Regions from separate parts of the Homo sapiens genome. Here region 1 is linked to region 2. The links are contacts of gene promoters, found by promoter capture Hi-C in blood cells and fetal thymus (Javierre and others, 2016). All regions are on one chromosome and are shown on one strand. Each heading gives the region's core, a stretch centred on a gene start or on the middle of the fragment in contact. The rest is flanking DNA. Distances are from core to core; before and after follow the strand shown.

Region 1 (4,913 bases), core at 2,389-4,888, 1.6 Mb after region 2:
CGTTTTTTAAATGAGACACAATAACCTGAAACTCTTACACAAGTGAATATTTTCCATGATGCTTAAAATGTGTACACCTCCCAATTTTATTTACCCGGCAAAATTTACTGAGCACTTATTCTGAGCTTGCCACTGTACAAGAGATTCTAGACAGAATGATGAGAAAATAGGCACCATCCCTGCCTTTTATGTGGCTTCCAGTCTAGTGGGAAAGACAACAACTGATAAAGTAGGCATATGATAGGTGTTTACTGATAGGTCCTTCTAAGGGAAGAGTCTCAGTTCTATGCCAGCCATCTGAAAGAGCCTGACCTAGCTGTGGGGGGGGGTTCCATTTTAGGTTGAGCAGCAGGATGTGAAAAGGAACTGTGGCAGGAAATATTTAATAACATGGTGTGTTTTAAGAATTGAAAAAAATGTATTTATATATAAAAGAAAAAACCAATAAGTTATGTGTGTATTAAAAATATGATGCTCTGAGTAATTTACTATGTAGCTGAGGTTACCGTGGGATCTGACATCCACCCATCTGTCTGTTGAGAAGACACTTTATACAGATCTCTAAAAATACCCTTGTTGAGGCATTTTCTCATCAAAATAGACATTGTCTCTCTCATATCCCATTAGTTGTGTTGGAAAGAAACATATTGAAAGGACATATCCTAATATGGACCATTAGTAAATATATTTGTAATGTTATTTTACTCTTAGCTATCCAAGTTCTTACGAATATAGACCATTAGAGTAATGAGTTACCAATGGTAGAGCCTTTGGCCTTGCAATTCCACAAATTTCAAATATTTTTATCTATCTATCTATCATCTATCTATATCTATCTATCTATCTATCTATCTATCTATCTATCTATCTATCTATCATCTCAATCAATCATCTATTTATCATATATCATATCTATCTATCATCTCAATCAATCACCCATCTATCTATTTATCATATATCATATCTGTCTATCTATCTTCTATCTATCTATCTATCTGGATATAGTTAGTGTGCTCAATGTGTGTGTGTGTTTAGGAGATTGGAAATTCTAGCATAAACAAGTAGATACATGAACTGATGGACATATGAATTAGGTATGGCTAATATCCCTAGAGCTACTAATAATGTTTAAGCATAGAAGTAGTTCTTCCTCATCAGCTGTGGAAGGCCGTTTTGAACGGGCACTCTGAGGACACAGGAGGAGATGTGGTTGTCTGGGGGAAGAGGCAATGAAAAGAACACTTTTCTTCCTAGAAAGGGCTTCTGAGGAGCACTTTCTCTGAGGAGCACTTTTTCTTTTTCTCTTCCTGAGTCAGAGAGGACTTGGCTCTCAATAATACTCATTGTGGGATGACTCTTCAGAGGGATGCAAGATGCATTGCTTCCTTCAGAGACAACAGTTATGCCATCCATGACCTCTGTTCCTTACAGAACTCCCAGGTAGGAGCTACAACATATACTGTGATTCTGAATATAAATCTCTGTCATATTGGCCAGGGTTTCTCATCAGTAAATTGTTAGTAAAATTTTCCTTCTGCATGAAAATTTGAAACTCACCTATTTAGAAATAAAATTTATCTCAAAAAGAAAAATGTATCTTGGGAGTCTTGTACTTTACAAATATAGTCAACATTATTAGTTCTGACCCACTAAATCAATCCATCAGTATTCAGGCAAAACTCTGAAAAATGTAACCATGATTTTCACAAAGTAAATAAAAATTACAATGGTGTTATAAGTAATGATCTGCTCTCTACAACCTACTGTAAACTTTTCTTTCAAAATGATCTTTCTAAACAATGTCCCCAGATGACAAAGTATGCAATAGAGTTTTTCTTACGCCAGTTTTAATTTCTGTGTATATTCCCAATTAATTATATATCCTAATATTTATGCGGCCCTCTGTCACTTGCAAAGTGCTTTCACACTTTTACGTTTATTATTATCTCATCTCAAATTAACATCACTCTTTGGTAAAAACAAGTGGGTATTATAATTCCAATTTGAGTGGTGAAGAAGAGATTCAAAGAAGTTAATTATTTGCCCAACATCAAATAAAAAGTGATTTGCAGAGCTAATAAGAGTCGTAAGTATTTACTAGTCAACAAACACATCCTGGTCCTTATGACAGGTGTGTCATATACATTCCCCTATAATGCTTGCCTCAGCCTTCGAAGGAAGATAATATTACCTCCAATTAACTATGATCACCAAGTTAACCCAGGTGAGTAAGTAGCGGAATCTAAAATTACAGTGGTGTTACAAATTAAACTAGACTAAACTAAGAGCATTTCACTGTGTGTTATAATATAGTTTTCTCTCATTCAGATTAGCTTTGCTTTTTTCATCTAATAATTTATATCGAGACATTTGTTATCATAGAAAAATTTGGGTACATATTTTTCAAGTCAAAGAATGACATATAAAATAATTTATAGTGGAGACAGTATCTTTTTAAAAAGTAATTCTTTTGAATGGTAATTTTCTATCGGATTACCAAGTTCTTCTCCCTGAAGAGAGCTTTAATAGGAGAGTCGGCATATGGCAATGTTGACTTAGGTGTTGCAACATGAAATAACTGGAAATGTTTAACTCATGTTCATACTTATTTAATTCTTTTAGACATTCCTCTTAGTGAATATTTAGATAATGGAGTAGAGAAGAAATCCTATGGAAACTTTATCATCATCATCAAATATTTATTTCTAAGCACCTCACAAAATAAAGAAGATATAACTTCTTCCTAAACCTATAAATCCGAAAAAGGGGATCTAAAGACTACACATCCAGAACGAAGTATTTTTCAAATAATTAATTAAATTTATGCTTACAAATAAAAAATCAAATAGGTTTAAAGGAATAATTAAAATTAAGAAATATTGGGGAAATATTTGAAGGTAAACTTTCTATCTAAGAGGATATGGGTCAAACTGATGTAATTGACAAATTACCATAGTAATTTTTAGGAGCTGGTTTGATAAGTTTATAGAGTAGAAACAAATGAAGCTATCTATGGTAGAAAAGAGTAGATGTTGTCTTCCTCAAAAAATTACATATTACACATATTACAGTGCCTGCTTTTTTAAAGTAAAGTGCTCAGATGTTGGGGAAAAAAAACCCATTTTTGCTATTGTTTCAGTATCTCTGAAAAGAGATTACTTCAATTTTTGGTGCTAGGATATTGATATTATCATAAGATATAGCACAGTGAACTAAAACTGGCTCATGAATTTGGGATTTTTAATTAAAAGAATGAATCAATCACCGTGGAGATTCAACCAGAGTAAAAGCTTCAAGGAATGGAATTTACATCATCTTAAATTAGGTTATTTTTCAGAGCATTACTCTTTAGGGACGTTACCTACCTTAATTCTAGTAAGCAAGAAGACAATTAAAGGTAATTTATATGTTTTTCTAATATTACTTTTGAATATTAATCCTGAAGAATTATCTAGTCTCTGACTCTCATGTACATTGCTATTTGACTCATTACTTGAAAACACTTGTATAACTCATATTAAACAATATTAGTGTTATCAATGCGGCCACAGCTCTGTAGTTATTGCTTGGCTGTGCGGACATTTTACTTCTCCATATTTCTATTGCCACTTAGTTCCGTTGAATTTGATTGTCTATTTTAAGGAACAAAAATCAACTTACATTAGGTACAGGAGTTAATGGGGTCATTCATTCACAAACTCTCAAAGAACCAAGTAATAAGTTGGTTTCCATATGTAGCACTGCCCTCTACTGGGCAAAGAAAAGTCTGATGTTATTAATGGTTTTCTAATTTCAGTACTTAAAGGCAGCTTAGTAGAAAATACTGATAGAGATATTCGAATTGAACTACCCTGATAGTTTTTTAAGGTGAAGAGCCTGATTATTATTATAGAATATGAGAATCTTAACATTTTGTAAAGACATTTTACTTCCTTTTCCTCTTGTTTTGATTAAACATGATCTTTGATTTGACCTTAGATTCTTTCGAAGCTTCAACATATGAAAAATATGGTATATTGTACTATAAACTAGTAATGTAATAATGAAATTAAAGTCAATTTGGCATTAATTCAAGGGTTTTTTATTTGAATTTGCTCTTGGTAGACATAAACAAGTATCTTTATTTTTAAAATTGTTTATAATTTATTTTGTTTATAACTTTATATTGATAATCAGTTTATATTTGGATGATAATATTTGGATGTTTGCTTTAAGGTATACCTTATGTAGGATATCAACAAGAGACTGTGAAGTGTTATCTTTTCTCATTTTCTCCTTACTCTGTTACAACGTAGGGCAGGGGTTTTAGGAAATCACACCATAACCAGACTCTGTTAATTACCGTAAAAGACAAAAGTTCAATACAAGTTTTTAGTGTGCTCATAAACATAAAATCTAAGTAATGTTGAATAACATTGGAAAACATGATTAGTTACATCAGCAAATGTAAACAGTTTGGATCAAACTGGGTAATACAATCAGCATTAGATGTCAGAACTCACGGAGATGGCAAAAACACACACACAATATTTTTCCGCATTGTTTCCATGATTTGAAATCTAATGAAGCTCACATCTTTTAAAATTTTGCATGTCATATTAATATTTGTCTCAGCCAAACTTTTACAAGATACAGAATGACAGAAGACTCGATATTATTCCCTTACAGGTATCTGTAATGATATTACATGTATTTGTCGGGGAAGAAACAAACTTTTAAGAATCAGCTGAATTAAGGTAGAATTTACACCCATCTGTGAAAACAGAGGATACATTGAAGACATTTGCCAGTTAGGCCGGGTGTGGTGGCTCAAGCCTGTAATCCCAGCACTTTGGGAGGCAGAAGGATCACTTGAGGTCAGGAGTTTGAGACCAGCCTGGCCAACATGGTGAAACCTCATCTCATTCTCAAAA
Region 2 (4,456 bases), core at 1,225-3,724:
GGTTAGGAAAAGATTTCTTAAATCCAACACCAAAAGCACAATCCATGAAGGAAAAATCGATAAATTGTACTTTATCAAAATTGAGAACTTCTCTTTGAAAGGTACCATAAGGAGAACAAAAAGACAAGCTGTAGAGTGGCAGAAAAATATTTGCAAAACATTTCTGATAAATGAGTTGCATCTAGATTACATAAAGAAGTCTCAAAACTGAACAAGTAAACCCATTGTTTACTTAATCGCTGTTTCTCCTGAGCTTGCTGCCTCTGCCCCTGCTCTCTCTCCTTTTCCATTTGTTTTCAACATTGAATCCAGAATGTTCTTCTTGAGATCCAAGTCAGATCACACCAACCCTCAGAACTCTCCAATAGACGACCATGGCACTCAAAAGTCCACAATAGCCTTCAATGCTGGGCAAAACATGAAGCACCCCTTTTCTCCCTTCTCTGACCCCATCACCTCTGTGTTCACCCTGCTCCTGCCGTCCTCCCTGCCTCCAAAACAGGTCAGGCCTTCGTGCCTTTGCACTTACTATTTGCAATACCCAAATGTTCTTCAGGCTCTTTAGCCTCTTCATTTCTTTCCTGAAGTGTCATTCTCACTGAGGCTTATCTAAAGCTGCAGCTACTGGGGCATTCCTGTCTCATCTCCCTGCTGTATTTTGTACTCCCGGCTCTCTTTTGTACTTTTAAACATACTATATGGTTTACCTTTGTTGTTTATATTTGCATGTTGTTTCCCACTTGAATGTAAGCTCCAAAGATTTTATTTTTTTAAACTGAATTATTACTGTATTCCCAGAACAATTCCCTGGCAAATATTTGGTACTCAATAGTAATGCTAAGTTAGTAAATAAATGATGAATTTAGAATCAAAATAATGTGTCTATGGCCAAAATAAAACCTGAAATCCCTGTCCTATTTCCCAGAGGTAACTGCTGTTAATAGTTTAGTTGTGTGCTTCCAGACATACCTTCACAGAATCATTTATCACAATAAAGGTGTCATACTATGCAGATTGTTTGACAAGATGCTTTTTTTCACTTTACACGGGCATCTTTTCATACCATTGTGTGGCCAGGCCATGATTTGTTTTCCAAAAGACATTTACCCAATTTATATGGTGAAGATTTTTGTCCATATTACTTTTTATAGTATTTCTGTAGGGTAAGTTCCCAGAAGTAATATTGCACGATCATCGAAAAATTTTAGTGTTACATTACTGCCCCATAAAGGTACTAATTAACATCCCTCTCAACAACATAGAAGATTCCTTTTTTTTTTTTTCTTTTTTTGGGTGGAGGGGGGCGGGGACAGAGTCTTACTCTGTCGCCCAGGCTGGAGTGCAGTGGTGCCATTTCTGCTCACGGCAACCTCCACCTCCCGGGCTCAAGCTATTCTCCTGCCTCAGCCTCCCAAGTAGCTGGGAATACAGGCACGCGCCACTACGCCCAGCCAATTTTTGTAGAGAAGGGGGTTTCACCATGTTAGCCAGGCTAGTCTCGAACTCCTGACCTTGTGATCAGTGCTGGGGTTACAGGCGTGACCCACCGCGCCCGGACGGATTTCTTGTTTTCATACTGTCATCAACTTTAAATACAAGTATTTTCAGTTTTTGCCAATGCTGTTAATTTAGAAATGTGTATGTATATATTGTCTGGTGGGTGTTTGGATGGAAACGATCAAAATCGGGCAACTTCCCCAGTTTCCTTGAAGGGAGTGCTTGCCATCGGCCCCTCTGGGAAGTAGCTCTCCGTAGTTCTCCATCTTCCTGTTTTGAGGAACGCAGGAGGAGGTGGATCTGGAGTCTCATCCATTCGGTGGCTGTTAACGGCAACTGCAGCAGCCAGCCAGGTCACCCCCTAAAGCAAAGTTAACCCCTTGCATGGTGCCTTGGTCAGCACCCACCAAATTCGAGGTTTCTCCTATCCTTCGACTCGAGGCTCTTTTGACAGATGTGATTTATTTCCTCCTAGAGCCAGTCACATTGGCTCAAGCAACCTATCGTAAGAAAACAAATACAATAGTGTTTTAGCTGGAAACTGCCCACTGTCTAAGCGGCTTTTTAAATTAAGAACTCAGGTTCACTACGGGATGGCTTAGGCCAGGGAACAGCATGTGCGAAGTTCGAAGCCCGAGAAGTTTGGAGGAGCGGCCCCAGGCGCAGGCGGGTCCCGCAGCGGGGCCCGTGCCGCCCAGGCGATCAGCCCCTTCACTTAACCCGCTTCCCTCCTAGCAGGCCCGAGTCCCCTAGCCTCAGCCTCACGCAGCCAGAGCAAGGGGAAGAGGGAGTCCTTCGTGAGTTCGCCGCTCACATTCGGCGGTGGGAAACCGATCCGAAGATGCTTTTGTAGGCGAAACGCTCAGCTCGCGCGGCTCTGAACCACCGGGGAGCAGCGGCTGCTGCTAGTCGGACTACGCCAGCACCTCCTTGTCCAGCCCGGGAGCAGCCCCGCCTCGCTCAGGGCCGCGTGCGCGTGCGCGGCTCCAGGGGCGGGGCCTGCTCGCGTCCCGGGTGCCTGGATACCGAGCGCGTCCGTAGTGGCGGCTGGCGCTAGGGAACTGCAGGGTCTAGGGTGTTGTCGGAGTGGCAGTTGGTCCGAATTTCTCCCGAAGCCCGCGGAGGAGCGGGTAAGAGCCCCGCGAATCCGGCCCCAACCTCGGGAACGGGATGGGAGGCGGCCCTGGCCGCAAGCCCCGCGCTGCTAGCGGGTCCACCGCGTCGTAGCCGACAGCCGCCCTTCTTCCTCGCAGCGCGCCGCGATTCACCAGCCTGGTCCCTTCTGCGGAGAGCGATGCCGCTTCCCGACACCATGTTCTGCGCTCAGCAGATCCACATTCCCCCGGAGCTGCCGGACATCCTGAAGCAATTCACCAAGGCTGCCATCCGCACCCAGCCGGCCGACGTGCTGCGGTGGTCCGCGGGGTAAGCGCCCTTGGCCCGGGGAGCTGTCCGGTCTACATGCCCAAGCCAGACGAGCCCAGAGAGCCCTCCTCCCGGACCAGGGGCCTTACGCGGCACTCAGCGTCCTTAAGAGTATCAGGCAAAACTTTCCCCTTAGCATTGGTGACATCTATACTTGAGTGTTTTATCTAGGAACCATTTCGATTTATCGACTATGAGACCCGAAATCATTGCAAAATGCTCACTTACCTACAACGTAATGGCAACTCAATTGTTTAAAAGTGTTTATGATGAAGATAGACTAAAACTTAACAAAGTAATTGCATTGGGCAAAAAAGTGTTTACATTATGTTAAAAAAATTACACGGTTGCAGTCACTTTGTGAAATGACTTTACAAAGAGGAATATTTTAGCTAAGTTCCTCATCTGCAGAGAGTCCTCTCAGAGCTATGTATACCCAGAGCTGGTTAAATTTATTAGAACCGGAACGACCGTGGTCATACTGAGGTCATCATCCCTAGAGTGCTCAGGGTAAACTGTCCAGCAAATGAAGCTTCACAGTTTATTTTTTGCCACAAACATTCCAACACTTGCCAGGAACAGACATTCATAATCTCAAAGTTACAAGTCAACAGATCTTAGAGGCATTAAAAGAAATCCTCTTGGTTTTACAGGAGAGCTCTTTGCCCCTTTTCAATAAACAGATGTAAAACAAAAACTCACTTTTATGATGACAAGAGTCAGCACAGGTGTAAATTTAATTTAAATATTTTAGTCATCAACATTTCAAATTTTGGCTGGGCTTGGTGGTTCATGCCTGTAATCCCAGCACTTTGGGAGGCCAAGCTGGGAGGATCACTTGAGCCCAAGAGTTTGAGACCAGCCTGGGTAACACAGCAAGACCCCATCTGTATTTTTTTTAATAAGAAAACTAATTTAAAAAGAAAAAAAACAGCCAAATTTTGCTGGCTTTAAACTCTATAACCAAAGTGAATTAGTTTCGTTTGGCTGCTGTAACAAATCACCACAAAACTTGACAGCTTAAAACACAGACATACATTTGGGCCGGGCGCGGTGGCTCACGCCTGTAATCCCAGCACTTTGGGAGGCCGAGGCGGGTGGATCATGAGGTCAGGAGATCGAGACCATCCTGGCTAACAAGGTGAAACCCCGTCTCTACTAAAAATACAAAAAATTAGCCGGGCGCGGTGGCGGGCGCCTGTAGTCCCAGCTACTCGGGAGGCTGAGGCAGGAGAATGGCGTGAACCCGGGAAGCGGAGCTTGCAGTGAGCCGAGATTGCGCCACTGCAGTCCGCAGTCCGGCCCGGGCGACAGAGCGAGACTCCGTCTCAAAAAAAAAAAAAACACAGACATACATTCTTGCAGTTCTGGAGGCCAGAAGTCCAAATTAGTTTCACTAGGCTAAAATCAAGGTGTTGACAGGGCTTTGCTCTTTCCAGTGGTTCTCAGGAAAACCCAGCTCGTTTCCTTGCCTTTTCTGGCTTCTAGAGCTGCATTTCTTGGACGCCTTGGCTCATGTCCCCTTCCTCCATTT

Evidence for each region. Contacts are between HindIII fragments. The CHiCAGO score rates a contact against its expected background, and 5 or more counts as called.
Region 1: a contact is called between a fragment that was not itself captured here and the fragment with the promoter of ROPN1L-AS1 in region 2, in 1 of 17 cell types (total B cells). The highest score is 9.1, in total B cells.

What each region holds. Positions count from the first base shown.
Region 1 is chr5:12,020,086-12,024,998 of GRCh38, forward strand. No RefSeq gene overlaps it. Among named protein-coding and RNA genes, the nearest start is that of CTNND2, 120 kb to the left of the region's middle. The HindIII fragment of the contact is 700 bases long and covers 3,289-3,988 here.
Region 2 is chr5:10,439,377-10,443,832 of GRCh38, forward strand. It overlaps ROPN1L-AS1 (ROPN1L antisense RNA 1), which reads right to left and starts at 2,475. Exons shown (of 2, transcript NR_102746.1): 1 at 2,312-2,475; 2 at 1,359-1,997. ROPN1L (rhophilin associated tail protein 1 like) reads left to right here and starts at 2,503. Exons shown (of 5, transcript NM_031916.5): 1 at 2,503-2,922. The coding sequence starts at 2,792. It overlaps MARCHF6 (membrane associated ring-CH-type finger 6), which reads left to right. Exons shown (of 26, transcript NM_005885.4): 26 at 1-1,012. RefSeq lists a silencer at 2,357-2,616. The HindIII fragment of the contact is 3,763 bases long and covers 1-3,452 here.